Linked DNA regions of Homo sapiens: regions 1, 2, 3, 5, 6 and 7 are each linked to region 4. Evidence: promoter capture Hi-C in 16 types of primary human blood cells and fetal thymus (Javierre and others, 2016). All regions are on one chromosome and are shown on one strand. The core of a region is centred on a gene start or on the middle of the fragment in contact, and the rest is flanking DNA. Distances in the headings are between cores, read along the strand shown.

Region 1 (2,700 bases), core at 21-2,520, 830 kb after region 4:
AGAGAGAGAAGCGGGAGGCCTGGTTACTGGAAAGCAATCACTGGAGGACGAGGACGACCCGAGCTGCCAGGCAAGAGACCGGGCCGGCTACCATTGACTCCCGAGGTAGTTAATAATTGATAGCAGCACATTGCAATGTTCCTGGACCCGCACCAGTGGCAGAGCCCATTTCAACAACAGCTGACGCAAATACGGAGAATCCCCCTCCACTGCAGCTCGCAGCGCTCCGCAGCGGCGGCTGTGCGGGCGAGGGATTCCCGCCAGCACCCCCATGGCCGCGGCTAGTGCGCGCCCCCAAACCCGGGCTGCCGGGACATCCACGGCCAAGGATCACGGTCCTTCCTTGGGGACAGGCGGCAAGCAAGGCAAGGCAAGTCTTACTGGAGGTGGGGGGCGCAGCCCCGCTCATCAAAACAAGCCCTCCCCCTCCACCCACCCACGCAGCTCCAGAGCTCTCCATCCAAAACAAAAGCTCGGTCCTCTGCGCTCCGCTAGGGATGAGGGCAGGGGGTGGGCTGTGTGGGGTTCCTTGGCATCCCTCTAACACATGACTCTGGGGATGCGAGGAATGAAAGGGAAACCCGGCTCTCATTCTAAGATCCAGGAGCACTCCTGCGGTGAAGGACAGGACGCCAGGATGGTGGCGAAAGGGTTCCCCCTCGGCGTAGGCCACTGCTTACCTGCGGTCAGGTGCTCGTAGGGCTGCTCGCCCGTGTCCGCCTGAGGGTTGAAGGTGCTGCTGCTGCTGCTGCTGTTGCTGCCGCCCCCGCCGCCTCCACCGCCCCCGCTGCTGCTGCTGCTGCTGTTGCTGCCGCTGCCCTCTGGGGCCCCGGCGGCGCCGAGGAACTGGGGAGCCCCGTTGCTCAGCAGCATCATCTCCTCCAGCTTAGGGTAGTTGTCCATGGTGGGCGAGTGAGGAAAGGATCCGAACGGGTCAGAGATCTGCAGCGGGGACATCAGCTGCATCTCGGCCTTGGCCGCGGCCATCCTGGACGAGCAGGCTGGAGAGCTGGTGTCGGGGCGGGGGGGTGCAGCCCGGGGCTGGAGCTGCAGGGGACACAGTTGCGGGGGCCTGGCCGGGTTACATGCGGGGCGCGGGGAACACTGAGAAGCGTGCAGGCGGCGACCCCGACTCGCCCTGGGCGCGGGCGGGCGTGGACGCGCCGCGGCTGCGGAGGCTGGGGCAGGGGCCGGTCCTGCGGCGGCGGAAGCTGGCTGCGGCGGCGGATGGCGGCGGCGGCTCCCCAAGTTCTGCGCGCTGGGATCTCTCGCGACTCCCCGGATCCGCCTCTATTTGAAGGGTCTGGAACGGCACGGGTCCGCCTCCGTCGTGACGTACATGGCCATATATGGGAAGCAGGAAGCCCTAATATGGCAGGACCGGCCGGGAGGACCCGGAGTGACGTGAAGCCCCCCATCCGACAGCGCCCGGCACCTCCATCCTGCACCCTAGGGCCCGCGCCCGCGCCCGCATCCCAGGCGCCCAGGCTTCGGGGAAGCCTAGAGCTCTAGCCGCCGCCGGGGCCTCCGGGACCCGCGCAGCTCCGGAGTTCCCGCGTTGCCCCTCCCTCCGCCTTCTTCCCTCCTCCCAGAGCCGGAAGCGGCCGGGCCATATCGGGCCACTCCAAATAAGGTGCTGCCCAAATAAGGGTTGTTCCGGCGGGGGATCCTTCCTGCTCCTTATATGGCATTTCCGGGTCGCAGCTGGTTGCTCCCTCGCTCCCTCCCTCCTCCCTGGTTCCAAGCCGGGAGCCCGAGCGCTCGCGGGATCCGGGGACGCCCAGGCGGGGAGGGCTCGTGGCGTGTGGCGCTGGGCGCGCGGCTGCTCAGGCGGCTCCTAGGCGTGAACTAGGCTGGGGAAGCCCAGACCCAGAGCGGGGGCGAGGGCGAGTCGGGCCGGGGTTCTATCGCTGTCATCCAGGGCCCGCCCGCCCACCTCAGGGACCGTGAGAGCGAACCGGGAGTGCGGGGGAGGAGCGGCTGGGCCCGCCTGGGCAGGGGCCGCCCAGGAGAGGCGGGGCCTTGACCCCGGGCCTCGATCTATGGCACGGTGTCTTTCCGGGTGTCGCTGGGAAATTGAGGATAGGAAGTCACGGCCACTTGGTTCTTGGGACACTGTATAGCAGTGAGCTGCCTTGCCTCTGCCACCTGTCGGTGGGATGGGGCTGCTGGTGCCTGGGGTCCCCTGTGCTCCCCCGGAACCGAAAGGCTGTTCCCTAGTCCCCGCCGGCAAAGAGCCCACCTTTGGGGGACCGAAGTGGGGAAGCTGATTGCCCCAAGAGAGGCCTGATTCTTGTTCTCACCAGGAGATAATGGTCCTTGTGGTGAGGGGTCACTTTCCCCCCTTTATCCAGTCCAGGTGGAGGGCCGGCCCACACTGCGGGAATCCGAAAGAGGGGCTTCCCTATGGGCTGTCTGGGGACCCCGGGCTGGGCGCGAAGAGAGGACCGGCTTGGCGGCTCGGTGCTGCCCCCTGGAGGTTCCCTCTCCACTCCCAGCCCCGGACTCCGGCCGCGCGGGCTCTTCCGCCGCCTCCTCGCTCCTCCTCCCGGATGCGGCGCTGGGCGCGGAGCCAGGCCGGGGGAGCCTTCGACGCAGTGAGCACGAACTGAGCAGGCGCTGCAGCCCGGGCTCCCCCTGCAGTCCCTGGGGAGCCGTCACTGCCGAGGCGCCCAGACTCCGGGATAACACTCCTCACCC
Region 2 (2,854 bases), core at 197-2,696, 650 kb after region 4:
AGGTCTTAGAGGACCAGAAACTTGAAAGCTGCCCCTTGGGCATGAAGCTTGTCAAGGCTAATTGGCCTCAATATTCTTTCATAATGAGTGTAGGGCCAGGTGAGTTGTCAGTGGGGAAAGGAGAGGAGAATTCAGAAGCTCACAGAACATCCACACCAGGGACTTGGGAGATCACAAAACCAGGAACTGTTCTCATTGGTCAGAGAAGATAAGTGATACCAATCTCCCAAAGGTTTCGGAGAGATTTCAGGCAGAGTCTGCAGCATGCAGGGGCTCCCTCACTGGAAAAGCTCCTTCACCTGCTGCAGAGAGGCAGCCACGTCTCCCCAAGCCGGAGCACTCTGGCCTCTAGCACAGCCTGGCATGCAGTGAATACTCAATAAACATCAGCTGTTGTGGATATTAGCATAATCTTCTGGTGGAAAGTCTCTGAGGGTGGTCCCTGCAGAGAGGGGTAAGCTTCTAGGACCCTGGGATTCACAAGGAACGGGGACAGTGCAAGGCAGGCATGGTACCAAGAGACCCAGCTTAAAGACCAAGGAGGCAGGCATGCCGGCCCCCACTGTGGCCTCTCCTTCTCCTGCCCCAGTCTTTCAGGGTCATCCTCCCTCTGGGGCCTGCAGGGAGTCCTCCCTCTGTCCCAGGCAGGCCCAGTGACCTTTTGCTCAAGTCTGCAAATATATTCTTGTCTAGTCTTGGAAATGAAATTGTGCTCAACATTTGTATAGGGCTTTTCCATTGCCCAGCCCTTTACAGACATTAGCTAATTAAATGGAGGAGGGATAGAGAGGAGCTGGCCTCTGCAGTCAGGGACCCCAGGCCCTTCTTACCTGGGCCCCAGTCTCACTCCTCCCTTCTTTCCTGCAAGATTGGCCTTACTCTAAAGAGAAGGCAACTCCTGAGGAATTGGCCACTGAGTCAGAAAGCAAGGGAAGCTGGGAACTTGGTAATCTGTGGAATGTGTAAGGGTCTTCCTGAGGTCATCCTGTCCCACAGCCACACCCAACAACTGGCTTAGTCTGAAAGTGCAGTTCTGTGTCTGCCATGAGTGGGTCAAACACACAGGGCACACAGCTGTGTGGCCTGTTCTAGGGATGGGGCCAACCTCTCACCCCATCTGGGAGGCACAATTGTGGACAGCTGCTCCCAGCCTGGAGCGAAGCATGGAAGCCTCTACCTGCCGCGGTCTTCCTGACCAGGAGGATCGGAGGGGAGCCATCCAGTGTCAGCAGAACAGCTTGCCCTGCCCTCCCCTCCATCTCCACCCTCCTAGAACTGCCCTCCAGGGCACAGCAAGTCAACTCTCACCTGGGGAGGGTGGGGGCGGATTGGGGGGCAGGGAGAGATACCAGTTACGGAAACTGACATAGACATAGGGAAGAAATAGGCCATATTTCGAACTGAGACTGTGGGAGAAAGGAAAGGAAGAAGACTAGAAGGAGAGATGGAGGAAAAAAACATCTTCACGGGGTGCCCGTAGTGTCAAAGATTGAGGATTTCTTCGCGGAGCCGCAGGCAGCCCCATGTTGGATTCCTCTAGCCTGAGAGAGCTGCCCCTCCCACCCCACTGCCTGTTATCCCTCATACCCACGAGGGACGGCATCACAGGTGCCCACTTCACAGGCATGGGCTTCTTCACGGGGCAGGCGGTGCACGTTTTCCTCCCTGATCCCGTCAGAGACTGGAAAGTGGAGACTCGCTCTCCTTCCACAGCCTGGCTGCACTCGGCTCACCCTGATCCCATCAGTCTGCCTGGAGCCGATTGGAGAATCAGCAATTCTGGAGACCCCGCCAGGTCCAGCAGAGGAGGACCTGACCTCCCCGCATCATAATTATCTGTCTCATAAAAAACAGGCATTGAACTTCATAAAACCAATTAGGGCTACAGGGCCAGGTCATGGTAGCAAGTAGGAATTTAGCTCTGGTGACAGTGGCAGTCAACTCCAAGGACAGAGCAGTATGTGACAGCTCCCTCCTCTCAGGCCCAGCCCTATAGGCCACCCAAACAAAGCTCCTGCAGATGCAACAGAAGAGGTTGAGGTCAGACCCAAGGAAGGACTGGCAGGGGCAGGAGCACTGGAGTGGTTTCTTCCCTTTGTGACAAGCAGCCCAACAGAGCCTGAGTCCTCCCTCCACAGCCTTCTCTGGTTCCAGAAAACCTCAAGAGCTTCCCATCATGTTACCAAGGCAACTGTAGCCCTGCAAGATTCACAGTGAGGATGGAGAGAGAGCGGGGACTGACAGGAAGCCCAGACAGAATGCCAAGGTGGAGGCACACATCTGAGACTGAGCAGGGAGGCAGGGGCTTTGGGCCACAGCAAGCAGCCCCTGCCTTTCTGTTTGGGCTGTTCCAGGATCTGTTTTCCTGCAGGCTGTGAGTTTGTTTTACAAACCCCAGTCCCCTGTGGGCGAGAAAACAGCATCAAAGCTTCCTTCCCTGTCAGGTGGGGATGGAGTGGGGGCAAAGGAGGGCTCCTCCACAATTTCCCAGCATGCCAGATGCTGCAGCTCCTGGCCCAGCCCACGGGCAAGGGTTCTCCTGCTTTCAAAGGCCAACGGGACCCTCCTCCATCACCACTGCTTGCTCTACCATGGTCCCCTTGGGAGGCAATCTTGCCAAGGAATCAGCAGCACAGGCTGCTGATTGGTTGGAATTGGAGAGAAGAGTGTTTGGCTCCTGGCTTGGTCATTTTCTAAGACTCCATGACCTTGGTGAAGTCACTTCTTGCTCAGATTGTTTCTTTAGCTGAAAATCGGGATAATATGATGAATTCTTAGGATTTAATAGTACCATATACATCATGTGCTTGCACCAAGACTGGCACTGTGTCAATTTTTTTTTTTTTTTAAAGCG
Region 3 (2,762 bases), core at 152-2,651, 780 kb after region 4:
TAGGCTGGTCTGAAACTCCTGACCTCGAGTGATCCACCCACCTTGGCCTCTCAAAGTGCCATTGCAGGCATGAGCCACCACGCCCGGCCACAATATTCATGTCTTAATGCCAACTATCTAGCATGGTTTGTTAAAGATGGATTCTTAGTTGATCCATCTGCTTTCTAGTCAATTATTGAAGGGGCTATTTTCTTAAAATGGAATGGTAAGGCCAGGTGTTGTGGCTCACACCTATGTAATCCCAGCACTTTGGGAGGCCAAAGAGGAGGATCAGTTTATAAAAATAAAATGGAATGGGTAACAATTTCTTACTTCCAAAGAGATTGTCCCCTGGCAATTAGAGATCAACTAAGTGTGTAGTATTCCGATTCCACTGTGAGAACTCTTATCTATGTATGTCCCAGGACTGTTTCAATATTTTCTCTTTGGGAAGGCATAAAGGGATATAAAGTTAACATAGAAGGAAGGTTTTCCTCATAAAACTCAGAATCATTAGCTGCAATACCTTTAAAGACATGCTGGCTCATGCCTGTAACCCCGGCACTTTGGGAGGCTAAGGCAGAAGGATCATTTGAGTCCAAGACTTCGAGGCTGCAGTGAGCTATGATGGCTACTGCACTCCAGCCTGGCCAGCAAAGTGAGACCCTGTCTCAAAAAAAAAAAAAAAAGGAACAAGTTAAAGTTTTTTTGTTTTTTGAGACAAGGTCTCTGGATCACCCAGGCTGGAGTACACTGGCACAATCTTGGCTCACTGCAACCTACACCTCCCAGACTAAAGCCTTTCCAAGTAGCTGGTAGGGACTACAGGCACGTGTCACCACAGCCACCTAATTTTTGTATTTTTTTGTAGAGACAGTGTTTCGCTATGTTGCCCAGGCCAGTCTCAAACTCCTGAGCTCAAGCCATCTGCCTGCCACAGCCTCCCATAGTGCTGGGATTACATGTGTGAGCCATCATACCCAGCTTAGAACTCTATATTATAAAACTGAAACTGTATCCATTGAGCAATAATTCCTTGTTCCCCCTTTTTTCCAGCCCCTGGCAACCACCATTTGACTTTTTGTCTCTGATTTTGATTACTCCAGGAACCTCATATAAGTGGAGTCATACAGTATTTGTCCTTTTTTGACAGGGTTATTTCACTTAGCATGTATTCAAGTTTCATCCCTGTTGTAGTGTGTTTCAAAATTTTCTTCCTTTTTGAGATTGAGTAGTATTAACTGCTGTATGTAATATTGCTATAAACATGGGCATACAGATATCTTTCTGGTTTTATATTTACATGCCCATGTCAAATGTGTTGAAAAGCTTCACATAGATATCATTCGTTATTTCCTTATTGGGTTCAAATTTGTCCATAAGAGTTACATGTTTATAACTGAAGTCTATAAATTATTCCGTAGAAGGTTTTCCCACAGTGCTAATAGCATGGTGAGTGGAGTGAAAGGGCTTGTATATATCCTTTCAGAGTTTTTTTGACCTTAGCAAAGCTTTGGGATTCACCGTGTGGTACTTGTGTTTGCTTTTCAGGCTCTTACAGCACTACTTTCAGATGATAGCAAGTTTGGATTCATTGTAATAGATGGTAGTGGTGCACTTTTTGGCACACTCCAAGGAAACACAAGAGAAGTCCTGCACAAATTCACTGTGGATCTCCCAAAGAAACACGGTAATACAGGAGGAGAACATGAACCCACTTACTTTGTGTCTAGCAATAAGAAAACAGTATGGTGGGCCGGGTGCGGTGGCTCACGCCTGTAATCCCAGCACTTTGGGAGGCCGAGCCGGGTGGATCACGAAGTCAGAAGTTCGAGACCAGCCCGGCCCTGTCTCTACTAAAAATACAAAAATGTGACGGGCGCCTGTAATCCCAGCTACTTGTGAGGCTGAGGCAGGAGAATTGCTTGAACCCGGGAGACGGAGGTTGCATTGAGCCAAGATTGCGCCACTGCACTCCAGTCTGGGCGACAGAGTGAGACTCTGTCTCAAAAAAGAGAGAGAGAGAAAACAGTATGATGTGAGGGGAGTGAATCCAGATGATGGGGAGAGAAGCCTCCTGTAATGACTGGTGCCTCATTGGTACTTACAGCTCCTCTCTTGACATAGACTTAGTAGTCGCTCTCTGAAAACAAGTAGCAGTTTATGCTGAACGTTTAGTTAAGGGAATGGTGATTTTTCTTTGTCCTTTTCTTAGATGATGACATGATTATTTTATTTTTAATTTGAAGACATCTTGTAGTTCTTAATAATTGCCTTTTTCTCTTGCTACTTTTGTGTCAAAGGTAGAGGAGGTCAGTCAGCCTTGCGTTTTGCCCGTTTAAGAATGGAAAAGCGACATAACTATGTTCGGAAAGTAGCAGAGACTGCTGTGCAGCTGTTTATTTCTGGGGACAAAGTGAATGTGGCTGGTCTAGTTTTAGCTGGATCCGCTGACTTTAAAACTGAACTAAGTCAATCTGATATGTTTGATCAGGTAAGTAAGAAGTAGATGCTTTATTATGTAAGACCCTAGGTAGGAGTAGGTGAGTCCTCTGTGTGAGCACTGGAACAGACACATCTTTTTAAAATTCCTTGGGTTAAAAACTTGCCTCTGAGTTAAACAGCAGGTTTACAGATGTTTATCAGGAAACATTCCCCTGTGCTTTTCTGAACCCCTTCTCTTCTGAAATCAACCATTTTTAGGTGGGCTTCTTATGGATCCTGTGGAGGTTCCTTGTTTAGTTGGGTTGTCAGAATTGGCTGTAGAATGGAGTTTGATTTCA
Region 4 (2,745 bases), core at 79-2,578:
TATTCAGAAATCTTAAGCCAAGGTTTAAAACACAGAACGCAGTACCAATACAAAATCTCGTGACCCCTACCTACGAAATCAACGATTCTTCACATTATTCCAGCGCGCCCGAAAGACTAGCCATTTCAGAACCACCATAACCGTTCTAGAAATATCTGGCTAAAAAACTGTAACTGATCCAATAGGAATATTCCACAGAACAGGGCCACAGAGCAGGATAAACACCTAGGGGATATTCATCCACGGTAAATGCCGAACACAGAACATGGCACAGAGCTCGAAATGCAAAGAACGATGCGGCGACTACACCACGGTACTCCAAAACCCTTTGTCTGGAAACCGGAAGGTCCCACACCACACGATCCTCTCTGGAGGAACCTGGACTAATACTATTTTGATAAAGAGAAAAAGGATGTGAGGTGACTTGACTAAACAAGTGCAAATCACCCGCCTCGCACTGTACTGCAGGCGGCTTGTTCCACGACGCAGTACGAAAAACAAGCGTTAACGTTTCATTTTTCGGCCATTTTTACGCGATGGGGGGCGGGGAGGAATTGTTTCTGATGTCCAGCTAACGCCGCGCGCGCGCGCGCGTGTGGGCCGGGAGTCTTAGGGGGCGCTCTGAGGCGATGGGCAAGGAGCGGCGTGAAGGCCGAGACACCGGGAAAAGAAAGAAACGCTGCTCAAACAAGCAGGCTCTTCAGAGTCTGCGAAATCCTCCATTTTGGGGGAACATTTTCAGAGAAAAAAAGGCGAACGGGTTATTTGGCACTGGCGCTACCCAAGGACTTAGATATCTTAACCATCCTCCTCAAACGGCAAGCCCCCAGTGTACAGTCTGTCCCTCAGGCCTCGAGCGAGCTCCTCCCTCCCCCTCAGCGCCGCGGCCCGCGTGTAACGGGCTAGTCGTCCCGCCCCCGCCCACAACGAGCCCAGGACGCGCAGGAAGCTCGGCCGGTCAGCGCACCTCTTCACCCAAAATCTCCCGCCGCACCCTGGGCCCTTGGCCGGCCGCGTGTTTCCCTCCCGGACCGCTCACCTCCGCCGCCCTAGAAGGCTGGTTGCGCCGCCACTGCGCTCCTAACATGGCGGCCGCCGATCAGGCGGCTCACATACGCAACGCGGAGGGAGGCAGAGCGGGAGCGAGCAAGAAAGGCGCGCCGCCGGCTCCCCGCAGCCCCTGTCGCCGTCGTTGTCCCCTCCCGGCGGACACGGAGAACCCCCAGCCACCCGACCCCGACTCTTACCCGCTTCACGCCTACCTTAGGGAAAGGGAGAGGGAAAAGGAGAGGTACCTCTCTCCCAGCGAGCGGGACGCGGAGACTCCCACAATCCCCCGCAGCAACGGCGCTGGCGAGAAGCGGCGGCAGCGGCTGCAGCCCAAGAACAAACCCACTCTCGCGAGAGAGCTCGCCCCCACCCCCTCGATCTGGTTCGGCGCGCGCCAGGCCCCTCCCCCTACTCAGCGCGCGCACCTCGCTCGTGCACTCGCCTGCGGTCGTTGTTCTTTAATCCCGGAGATCCCTCTCCGTCATCCAGCTGAGGCGGGAAATGGAGGAACAGACGTGGCTTACGAGTTCGAGTCCCATTCCCGAAAAGGCTGTTTGTCAACCTCCTGAATAGCATAATACAAAGTTTAAATAGGGTATGCCTTAGAAGGGATTCGCGAGAGTCCCTGGCTTAGACTCGACTTTTATGCTCTCTGGTTGTTCTGTTTGCCAAGGAATGGTGGAAAGCGCCAGATATTGGGGCCACAAAGGGAAAACGATACCATTTTGGCTGGTTTTTATTTAGGTATGTTTATTTATTTATCATAAATAAACTGTGTTGCTCAGGTTGGAGTGCGCTGGCGTTATCATGGCTCATTGCAGCCTCGAACTCCTATCCTCAAGGGATCCTCCCACCTCAGCCTCCCCAGTAGCTGGGACTACAGGCTCGCACCACCATGGCCAGCTAACTTTTTTATTTTTATTTTTTCCGTAGAGATGGTGTCTCGTTATTTTGCCTAGGCTGGTCTGGAACTCCTTGGCTCAAGCAGTGCTCCCGCCTCCGCCTCTCAGCATTGGATTAAGGGCGTGAGCCTACACGCCCAGCCAGCTGTTTTTTTTGTTTTGTTTTTTGTTTTGAGACGGAGTCTCACTCTGTCACCCAGGCTGGAGTGCAGTGGCGCGATCTCGGCTCACTGCAAACTCCGCCTCCCGGGTTCACGCCATTCTCCTGCCTCAGCCTCCGGAGTAGCTGGGACTACAGGCGCCCGCCACGACGCCTGGCTAATTTCTTTTTGCATTTTTAATAGAGGCGGGGGTTTCACCGTGTTAGCCAGGATGCTCTCGATCTCCTGACCTTGTGATCCGCCCGCCTCGGCCTCCCAAAGTGGCCAGCTGGTTTTTAAAATCAGGAATTCTGTGCAGGAGGGTCGTTGAGGCGGAGGACCGCGAGCCTTTTCCTTCCTAAAGACCACCGCCGCCTTTTGGTGAATTTGACTGAATGCAATACACTCTTGGGACTGAGGTACTGGTTAGGTACCCGGGTTGGAGGGATTTGAGCTCCGGCCTTCAGAGGCTTAAGTAAATTGTTTGGAGACCTAATCTGGCTGCAACTCTCTCCCCAACCATCCTTGCAGAACTCCGCATCTGGAGAGTTGGGAATTTTCCAGCACAGTTAATGATTATAATATGGAGTGCTTTCTATAAGGTGGGCAATGCAATAAGCAGTTTACACATAACCCTACAATAACCTTGAGAG
Region 5 (2,915 bases), core at 225-2,724, 760 kb after region 4:
GGCTTAGTGACTTTCCCAGAAATGATCTGGCTGAGATTTATTTATTTATTTATTTTATTTTATTTTTTTGAGGCGGAGTCTCGCTCTGTCGCCCAAGTTGGAGTGCAGTGGCTCGATCTCGGCTCACTGCAAGCTCCGCCTCCCGGTTCACACCATTCTCCTGCCTCAGCCTCCCAGGTAGCTGGGACTATAGGCGCCCGCCACCACGCCCGGCTAATTTTTTTGCATTTTTAGTAGAGATGGGGTTTCACCCTGTTAGCCAGGGTGATCTCAATCTCCTGACCTCGTGATCCGCCCACCTTGGCCTCCCAAAGTGCTGGGATTACAGGTGTGAACCACTGCACCTGGCCTCTGGCTGAGATTTAAATTGAGCTTTGTGAGGCAGGCACAGATGGGAGCTTGAAAAGGGAAGTGGTGAAAAATTTGGCCATCCATAGCCTAGGCACAACCCAGCCATCAAACCCTGGGATGAAAGCTTCTTGGGGAGCATGTACTGTACATCCCGGTTAGGGAGTATAGTAAGCAGTGTCTAAAACGTTCCTGGTCCTAACCTGAAAGTAGTTAACGTGATTTACAAGTGATGACTTGGATGGCAGAGTACTTGAGGGGGAGTGAGTGTTCGGGCTGGTAAAGTTGAGTATCTCTGAGCTGTCACAATTCATTATGGTTGTATTATAGCTAGGTTGTCTTAGGTTTTGGGGGTTTTTTGATTTTTGTTTTTGTGCTGCTATAACAGAATACCACAGATTGGTGTTCTGGTAAGGGCCTGCTCTCTGCTTTTAAGATGGCACCTTGAACGCTGCATCCTTTGTTGGGGAGGAACACTGTTCCTCTCATGGCAAGAGAACAAAAGAGAGATGGCCCACTACTTATAAGCACCTTATTTTATCTTTTTTGTGTGCGCGTGTGACTGTAGCTCTCAGGTCTTATAAGCACCTTATTTTAAATAGCAGCATGAATCTATTCATGAGGGCAGAGCCCTCATAACCTAAACACATTCCATATGCCCCACCTTTCAATACTATTGCAGTGGGGATTAAGTTTCCAACACATGAATTTGGGGGGACACCTTCAAACCATAGCATAGGGTAAATGCAGCAAGCAACTGCTCTGGGTTCTTCTTCTTTGGGTGGAGGTGAGGTTGTGGAGGCTTGTTACCTTCAGCAGACCTAGAGATGACCCTGTGAAGAAAGCAAGCCAGATGCAGTGATTCTCAACCCTAGTTCTGCATTAGAATCTTGCGTATTTGAGGCCGGGCACAGTCGCTCACACCTGTAATCCCAATTCTTTGGGAGGCCAAGGCAGACAGATCACTTGAGGTCAGGAGTTCGAGACCAGCCTGGCCAACATGGTGAAACCCTGCCTCTACTAAAAATAGCCAGGCATTGTGGCGCGTGCCTGTAACCCTAGCTACTTGGGAGGCTGAGGCAGGAGAATTGCTTGAACTGGGGAGGCAGAGGTTGCAAAGATCAGAGATGGCGCCACTGCACTCCAGCCTAGGAGACAAGAGTGAGACTCTGTCTCAAAGAAAAGAATCAGCTGGGTGCGGTGGCTAAAGCCTGTAATCCCAACACTTTGGGAGACTGAGGTGGGTGGATAATTTGAGATCAGGGGTTCGAGACCAGCCTGGCCAACATGGCAAAACCCCATCACTACTAAAAATACAACAATTAGCTGGGCGTGGTAGTGGGCGCCTGTATCCCAGCTACTTGGGAGGCTGAGGCAGAAGAATCACTTGAATCCAGCAGGCAGAAGCTGCAGTGAGCCGAGATCACACCACTGCACTGTAGCCTGGGTGGCAGAGCGAGACTCTGTCTCAGAGAAAAAAAAAATCTTTCATATTTCAAAATTGAGACTGTCTCAACCAAAATCATCACCACCCTCACTCTCCCTATTCAGAAACTATTGAGTCAGGATGGAGGAAGAAGGGATCTTTTGTGTCTGAGCATGTATTCTTTTATTTTGCTTCTTTAGAAAGCTCTAAAAGGATTCAGGGCTGGGAGGTATGCAAACTGAAGTGTTCTTGAGCATTGTTGATGATGGTGAACATTGATTAAGATCCTTGTGGGTCAGGCGGGCACGGTCGCTTGCGCCTATAACCTTAGCTGCTCAGTGAGTCTGAGGTGGGAGGAGTGTTTGGGCCCAAGAGTTCGTGACCAGCCTGGGCAGCCTTGTGAGATCCTATCTCGAAAATAAAAAGAAAAATTAGCTGAGCGTGGTGGTGCGTACCTGTAGTCCCAGGCTAGGGTGGGAGGATCACTTGAACCCAGGAGTTTCCAGGTTACAGTGAGCTGTGATTGTGCCACTGCACTCCAGTCTGGGTGACAGAGCAAGACCCCATCTCTAAAAAAATTATCTTTCTACTTGAGTTTTGTTTGGGATTTATTTGGTTTAGTTCTGTTACAATTCCTTTTTTTCACCTGTTTGATTTTTCAGACGTTAACCCTCTGGGCGAAGCATTGATGAAAGCTTTGATAAGCCAAAGTGCCCCTAAAACCAATGAGAACAAGAAGAGAATCTGAGTGCAGAGGCCCCTGGGAGCTTTGAGGGATACATTGCTGTATGTTGTCTCTTGTTTTGCCCAGTTTTTACAACCTGCATGTGACACATTGCTGTACCCCATGATTCACTAGTTCTTTGATTTCGGAAGAGGAGTATAGGGATAGTAGAAAAACGAAGGAAAACTATTACAGTTAAAGAAGGTTGTAGTTTGCCTGTGTAGCCAGCATCTCCTTAGTGAGAGCTTTATTTTTCATTTTCCCCTGAAGGGTGTTCACTTTAAAAGACATGGAAGTATTCAGCTTCCTTAATTTTATTTTGGGTGTTTACACAAACTGGTCTAACAACTTTGATTGACTTGCAGGAGTGAGGGTAAATGAATGTTTATCTTGTTTGGAAACTTTACTGGAAAAACG
Region 6 (2,700 bases), core at 44-2,543, 700 kb after region 4:
GCAGCAGCAGCAGCAGTGTGTGTGTGTGTGTGTGTGTGTGTGTGCGCAGATCTCTGAAGAACCCACAAAAGTGCTTTATGAGAAAGCTAGATTTAAACACTGGCCACACTGGGAGGTAGGAGAGTGCAAAGCCAGCTTTGACATGAGACAAGTACCATATTTTCTGTCGCCTCTTAGTTTCTTGTGCTCTAATTCTAGAAGGATCAGAAACTTCAGAAGAGAAAGACTACACCCTTTCTTTTCATTTGCAGCAGGCCCCAGATAGGAAGGACAAATAGCAAATAGCTTAAGCTTCGAAAACCAAGCAGAAACATTGATAATACCAAGCTGAACATTTTAAGTGCCTAATTGAAATCATGCTGTACTGCGTACAGTGGCTATAAGGCTTCCTAACACCTCCAAGGGATCCTGAAAAGTATTTGTCCAGGAGCACACTTAAGACCATCACTACAAAGCAGGTTTAAAGAAACAGTGGGGCCAGGCGCAGTGGCTCACGCCTGTGATCTCAACACTTTGGCAGGCCGAGGTGGGCAGATTGCTTGAGGTTAGGAGTTCGAGACCAGCCTGGCCAACACAGCGAAATCCCGTCTCTACTAAAAAAAAAAAAAATAGCTGGGCATGGTGGCAGGCACCTGTAATCCCAGCTACTCAAGAGGCTGAGGCAAGAAAATTGCTTGAACCCTGGAGGCAGAGATTGCAGTGAGCCAAGATCACACCACTGCACTCCAGCCTCGGCAACAGAGCAAGACTCTGTCTTGAAAAAAAAAAAAAGAAAAGAAGAAACAGTGGGAGCTGAAAACAAAGTTTCTGTTATGATTATACCCCATCAGTACTGCTTGTCATTGTTCCAGTTGCAGTTATAAAAGTTGTTCTTCAATCTTTATTTTAAAAATAATTAAAACACCAAAGGACTCATAAGAAGAGGAGCTATTGTCAGAGCTAACAGTTCTCCTTGGCTTAACAATGTTTCAGTGTCCTTGTGGAAAATGAGGCTTCCAGCTCAGCCCACTTCTCCTCTTTCTTCTTCATTTCCTGAAGACTCTCTCTTCCCTCCTCCTGTTACTCTGCAGTATATAGCACAGTTCTGAGTACAGCCACTTTTAACAACATCATAAAACTCCCTCAGTCCTGCCCCCAACCCTGCCCATCTTCAGGAATACCATAAGGACTCAGAAGTCATCTCGACTGAGTTTCAGAGTCTCCTCCATGGTAACACTTGCTGCCATCTTCTCAATTTTACCTCTTTTTTTTTTTTTTTTTTTTGAGCCAGAGTCTCACCCTGTTGCCCAGGCCGGAGTGCAGTGGCACAATCTTGGCTCACTGCAACCTCCGCCTCCCAGGTTCAAGGGATTCCCCTGCCTCAGCCTCCCCAGTGGCTGGGATTACAGGCACGTGCCACCGCGTCCAGCTAATTTTTGTATTTTTAGTAGAGACGGGGTTTCACCATGTTGGCCAGGCTGGTCTCGAACTCCTGACCTCAGGTGATCTGCCTGCCTCGGCCTCTCAATACCTCCTCATTCTTTCCCTACAGTTGGGGAATGAGATACATACGCTTACACCCACATACAAAACACCATACAAAGAAAATTCTATACATGGATTCTAGCCCCTTAGAAATGTACTACTTAAGACAGTTAACATTAAACAGACAAGCATAAACATATAAACAATAGAGAAACAACATTAAACCAATACATGAATGAACAGCAGGGCAACTTCATGATTGAGATGGCAAGCAGGCGGCCAATCGATGAATGTTTACTGAACAGCTCCTAGGTGTCAGATGTTGGGCCAGGTTTTGGCAATAAAAATTTGAACAAAACAGACATAGTCCCTGCATACATGAAGAATCAAAACACTAGAGAAGATAAATACTAAATAATTTTTTACTAAAAAGTAGCTTATAGGCCAGGCACAGTGGCTTACGCCTGTAATCCCAACACTTTGGGAGCCAAGGTGGGCAGATCACCTGAGGTCAGGAGTTTGAGACCACCATGCCCAACGTGGCAAAACCCCGTCTCTACTAAAAATACAAAAATTAGCTGAGCATGGTGGCAGGTGCCTGTAATCCCAGCTACTCAGGAGACTGAGGCAGGAGAATCACTTGAACCTGGAAAGCAGAGGCTGCAGTGAGCCGAGATTGCACCACTGCACTCCAGCCTGGGCGACAGAGTGAGACTCCATCTCAAAAAACAAAAAAAAGTATTATAGGTGTAGACAGTGCTGTGGAAGATAATATGCAGGACTGGCCTAGGCCTTAGGAATCTAATCTATTCTGGGGGCTGGAGAAGCTTGCCTATACAAGTGACATTTATGTTGGGACCTGAAGGCTAAATAGGGTTAGACAACTGGCTGGTGGGGAGAAAGTGATCTAGGGAGAAGTGAGGGCCTATGGAAGTGCAGAAGCAACACTTCAAGGACCCGAAAGAAGGCCCGTGTTGCTGCAGTGAATCTATCAAGGAAGGGTTGCCGATATAAGGAGGTTGAAGGGACCAGCAGGAAGCTGGGAGATTTTTTTCTTTTTTAAGAGAATGGATCTCACTATGTCACCCAGGCTGGAGTGTGGTGGCTATTCACAGGCACACCATCATTGCACACTACAGCCTTGAACTCCTGGGCTCCAGTGATCCTCTTCTCAGCACTACAGGTGTGCACCACCACACCCAACTCTGGGTTTTTTTTTGTTTTTTTTTTTTTGAG
Region 7 (2,700 bases), core at 38-2,537, 940 kb after region 4:
CCCAACACGCACACACACCATTTTTCATAGCCTTATCTCACCAGAGAAGCTAGGGCCCCTATCAAAATGAGGAAATAAAGTGGCTTGCCAAAACTCAAACACTATATTTTACCGCCACATTAACGAGAATAACACATCATGATCCCGAATGCTAGTTAAGTTGTATGACTGAACAACTTTAATCACAAAACACACCAAGGCATTCAAAAAGGGCCAAGCCCAAACACAAAGTTTCAAAACAAAACCTCTCCCAAGGTTGGGGGAGTAGCTGAGCTGGGAGCAAAAAGCACTACCCAGCAGCCCCGTTCGGCCACTAAGAAAGATCTCAAACTTAACAAAAACAGCCACAACTGCAGCTCCTGTCACCCAGAAGCGTTAAGGAAAGGAGAGGAGAGCTCGAGACAGTGCCGAGAGCTGGCCTTTCTGGAGACCGCCAGGCCGAGCCCAGCTCAGATGAGGAAGTAACTGCCAGATAAAAAAGCCCCGACCAGCTCCAACTGCAGCCTCCGTGCCTCCCATAACTGCCCACATTCCCGCCCCACTTGGGGCTCTGGGAGAAAAGGAACAGGGCGCAGGTCTCCTGGGAGAGGCTGGGGACCACAGGTCCGCGTCTTCGAGAGGGCAGCGGCAACACTGGCCGAACTCTGAGGCTCCCGGGAGCTCAAGATTCGAGAGCCTGCTCCGAAGGCGTGTTGGGGGGAACGCCGAGAAAAGGGTCGCCCAGGAGGCGGGGCCTGCTGGCTGCAAGCAGCAGCTCCGGACGCCCTGGCCGCCCCCCGGGGGAAACCGGGGCGCACACCCCGACGCGGAAGCCATGCCGGCAAGCGCTCGGGGTGCGGAGGTGCCGGCGGGGGGCGCTAAGGAGACCCGGGGGCACGGAAATGGGTCACCCCCATCCCACCGCCCCCTCACAAAGGCCCCCGGGGAGGCCGCCCGCAGGCCCCGCAGCCCCGGCCTCGAGTGCCCGACTCGGCCGCCACTCACCGCTAGGTCCTGGGGCACCGCCCCGCTCATGGCCCGCACCGTGCCGGCCCGCCAGGCTCGAGTGCGCAGCGCAGGCCCCGGATCTCCGCTCGCCGCTGCCGCCGCGGGAGCCGAGGCCGAGGCTGAGGCCGCAGTGTCCGCGAACAGCAGCAGCAGCCGCTTGCCCACCGGGGAGGCCGCCGCGTCCGCCATCGCCGGGGCCGGCCTGACCCGCGCTCCCGCCCGCCGCCTCCCACCACCTCCGCCGCCAAGCGCCCGATCCGCCCGCAAGGCCTCCCTCCGCACCACCCGCGGCCGCCGTTCCCCCCCACCCCCCCCAACAGCCACCACCAACCACCGGCGCAGCGCAGCGCCCCCCGTGGCCGGGAGCGGAGCCGCAGCCTGGGCCCCGCACAGCGCCCCCCGCGCTCTGGAGCGGGGCGACAGCTCCTGGCCCCTCGCAGCGCTCCGCCCCAATCTCCCCGGGGCCTGCAGTGCCCCCTGCGGTCTGGAGGGGAATTGCAGGTCCGGCCGGGGTAGGGAAGTGGGCGGGTCCTTCAGCTTCCCCATGGCATCATCCCTGGTCTCAATCTTCCTTCAGGGAGTCGTATATATGAGAGGGCTTTAGCTTGCTCTCCTCGGATACCAAAGACATTTACGGGGTAAGGGGGTGAGGGGCAAGGTACCTAGAGAGTGGATGTTTTGAGCTATTTAGTGTCTCCAATACCCCCATTGATTTCCTATCCTGAAAATATGAGCTCCTACCTGCTGTCTTGTAGGAAATGTTCTCCCCATTGGTCCATGAGACACAATGTCTTCCTTCTCAATGGCCCATAACAGCACCATCCCATTCTATACTGCCAGCACTTCTTAGGTTCCTTTCCAATTGGCCAATGTATTACTTCCATTGGATGTATAATGCCACTCTTTCCACTGACTGAAGGCCAACGTGCCCCCCAACATCTTGGTGTTTTTCCTAAAACCGACCTAACTTCTTCCCCTTCCTAGTCTGCCAATGTTATTAAGTCTACGTGTTTCTCCATTCAACTCTTAGGGGAACTGGAAATAGACCAACAGTAAAGGGGTTCTCTTAGTAGCACTCCATCTTACCATGGAATTAGTGGGGCTGGGGGCAAAGAAAATTCTGTAACTCTTATCTGAATGCATTTAATACAGGTGTGGGAGACTGATAGCTCCTGATTAGAAAAGGAGCCTGCAGAGAAAGTGAGATGCTGAGATTTTTGGCTAGATTGTTACCCACAATAAGCAACAGGAAATTGCCTCAATCATTTAAAGCTGGCAATATCAGGGACTAGCACATTCCATGGTCTCATGGATGCAGAGACTGAGTATACACAAAATGGATACAAAAGATAAAGGGTATAGTAATAACCCATGACTGTTGTTCTAAAAGTGACTTTTTGATTTTCCCTACAGACAGGAAATAGTGGTAGCTGGTTCTTTCTCCAAGGCTTCTGTGCCTACCCCAGCTATCTCCTGTCCATAACCTTGTCTACACCCTTGACCTACTTTTCTTGTAACAAAGGCTTGGGGAGAGGGGTAACCAACTATTGACTTTATACTTTTACTAAAGTATAAAACATATAGGAAAATCATTCTAGAACCAACCCTGTGGAGCACCAAGGAAACATTCCTCCCTCCACTTCTTTTTAACTTCCATCTCCCACAGCCAACCTGAGGCCTGACTCAGAATGTTTTTCTGGGCTGAGAGCCACC

Evidence for each region. Contacts are between HindIII fragments. The CHiCAGO score rates a contact against its expected background, and 5 or more counts as called.
Region 1: a contact is called between the fragment with the promoter of EGR1 here and the fragment with the promoter of MATR3 in region 4, in 5 of 17 cell types (erythroblasts, monocytes, naive CD8 T cells and 2 more). The highest score is 7.7, in erythroblasts.
Region 2: a fragment that was not itself captured here is called in contact with the fragment with the promoter of MATR3 in region 4 in 1 of 17 cell types (megakaryocytes); the score reaches 6.1 in megakaryocytes.
Region 3: a fragment that was not itself captured here is called in contact with the fragment with the promoter of MATR3 in region 4 in 3 of 17 cell types (erythroblasts, monocytes and megakaryocytes); the score reaches 6.0 in erythroblasts.
Region 5: a fragment that was not itself captured here is called in contact with the fragment with the promoter of MATR3 in region 4 in 4 of 17 cell types (naive CD8 T cells, erythroblasts, naive CD4 T cells and 1 more); the score reaches 7.3 in naive CD8 T cells.
Region 6: a contact is called between a fragment that was not itself captured here and the fragment with the promoter of MATR3 in region 4, in 1 of 17 cell types (endothelial precursors). The highest score is 5.4, in endothelial precursors.
Region 7: a contact is called between the fragment with the promoter of KDM3B here and the fragment with the promoter of MATR3 in region 4, in 2 of 17 cell types (fetal thymus and naive CD4 T cells). The highest score is 6.8, in fetal thymus.

What each region holds. Positions count from the first base shown.
Region 1 is chr5:138,464,049-138,466,748 of GRCh38, reverse strand. It overlaps EGR1 (early growth response 1), which reads right to left and starts at 1,270. Exons shown (of 2, transcript NM_001964.3): 1 at 681-1,270. The coding sequence starts at 987. RefSeq lists silencers at 1,017-1,226, 1,317-1,666, 1,677-2,076, 2,397-2,666 and enhancers at 532-1,371, 1,372-2,212, 1,285-2,484. The HindIII fragment of the contact is 6,642 bases long and covers 1-2,700 here.
Region 2 is chr5:138,645,734-138,648,587 of GRCh38, reverse strand. No RefSeq gene overlaps it. Among named protein-coding and RNA genes, the nearest start is that of HSPA9, 72 kb to the right of the region's middle. The HindIII fragment of the contact is 1,969 bases long and covers 462-2,430 here.
Region 3 is chr5:138,512,475-138,515,236 of GRCh38, reverse strand. ETF1 (eukaryotic translation termination factor 1) reads left to right here. Exons shown (of 11, transcript NM_004730.4): 5 at 1,531-1,669; 6 at 2,283-2,473. Among named protein-coding and RNA genes, the nearest start is that of ETF1, 29 kb to the left of the region's middle. The HindIII fragment of the contact is 182 bases long and covers 1,311-1,492 here.
Region 4 is chr5:139,292,323-139,295,067 of GRCh38, reverse strand. It overlaps MATR3 (matrin 3), which reads right to left and starts at 1,328. Exons shown (of 15, transcript NM_018834.6): 1 at 1,263-1,328. LOC124901081 (a long non-coding RNA gene) reads left to right here and starts at 1,511. Exons shown (of 4, transcript XR_007058956.1): 1 at 1,511-1,794. RefSeq lists enhancers at 1-552, 553-1,256. The HindIII fragment of the contact is 8,607 bases long and covers 1-2,745 here.
Region 5 is chr5:138,529,200-138,532,114 of GRCh38, reverse strand. All of the region lies in intron 2 of ETF1 (eukaryotic translation termination factor 1), which reads left to right. Among named protein-coding and RNA genes, the nearest start is that of ETF1, 13 kb to the left of the region's middle. The HindIII fragment of the contact is 1,994 bases long and covers 478-2,471 here.
Region 6 is chr5:138,591,549-138,594,248 of GRCh38, reverse strand. No RefSeq gene overlaps it. Among named protein-coding and RNA genes, the nearest start is that of HSPA9, 17 kb to the right of the region's middle. The HindIII fragment of the contact is 2,000 bases long and covers 294-2,293 here.
Region 7 is chr5:138,351,272-138,353,971 of GRCh38, reverse strand. It overlaps KDM3B (lysine demethylase 3B), which reads right to left and starts at 1,287. Exons shown (of 24, transcript NM_016604.4): 1 at 985-1,287. The coding sequence starts at 1,176. RefSeq lists an enhancer at 348-447 and silencers at 698-1,167, 1,248-1,487, 1,508-1,587. The HindIII fragment of the contact is 3,421 bases long and covers 1-2,700 here.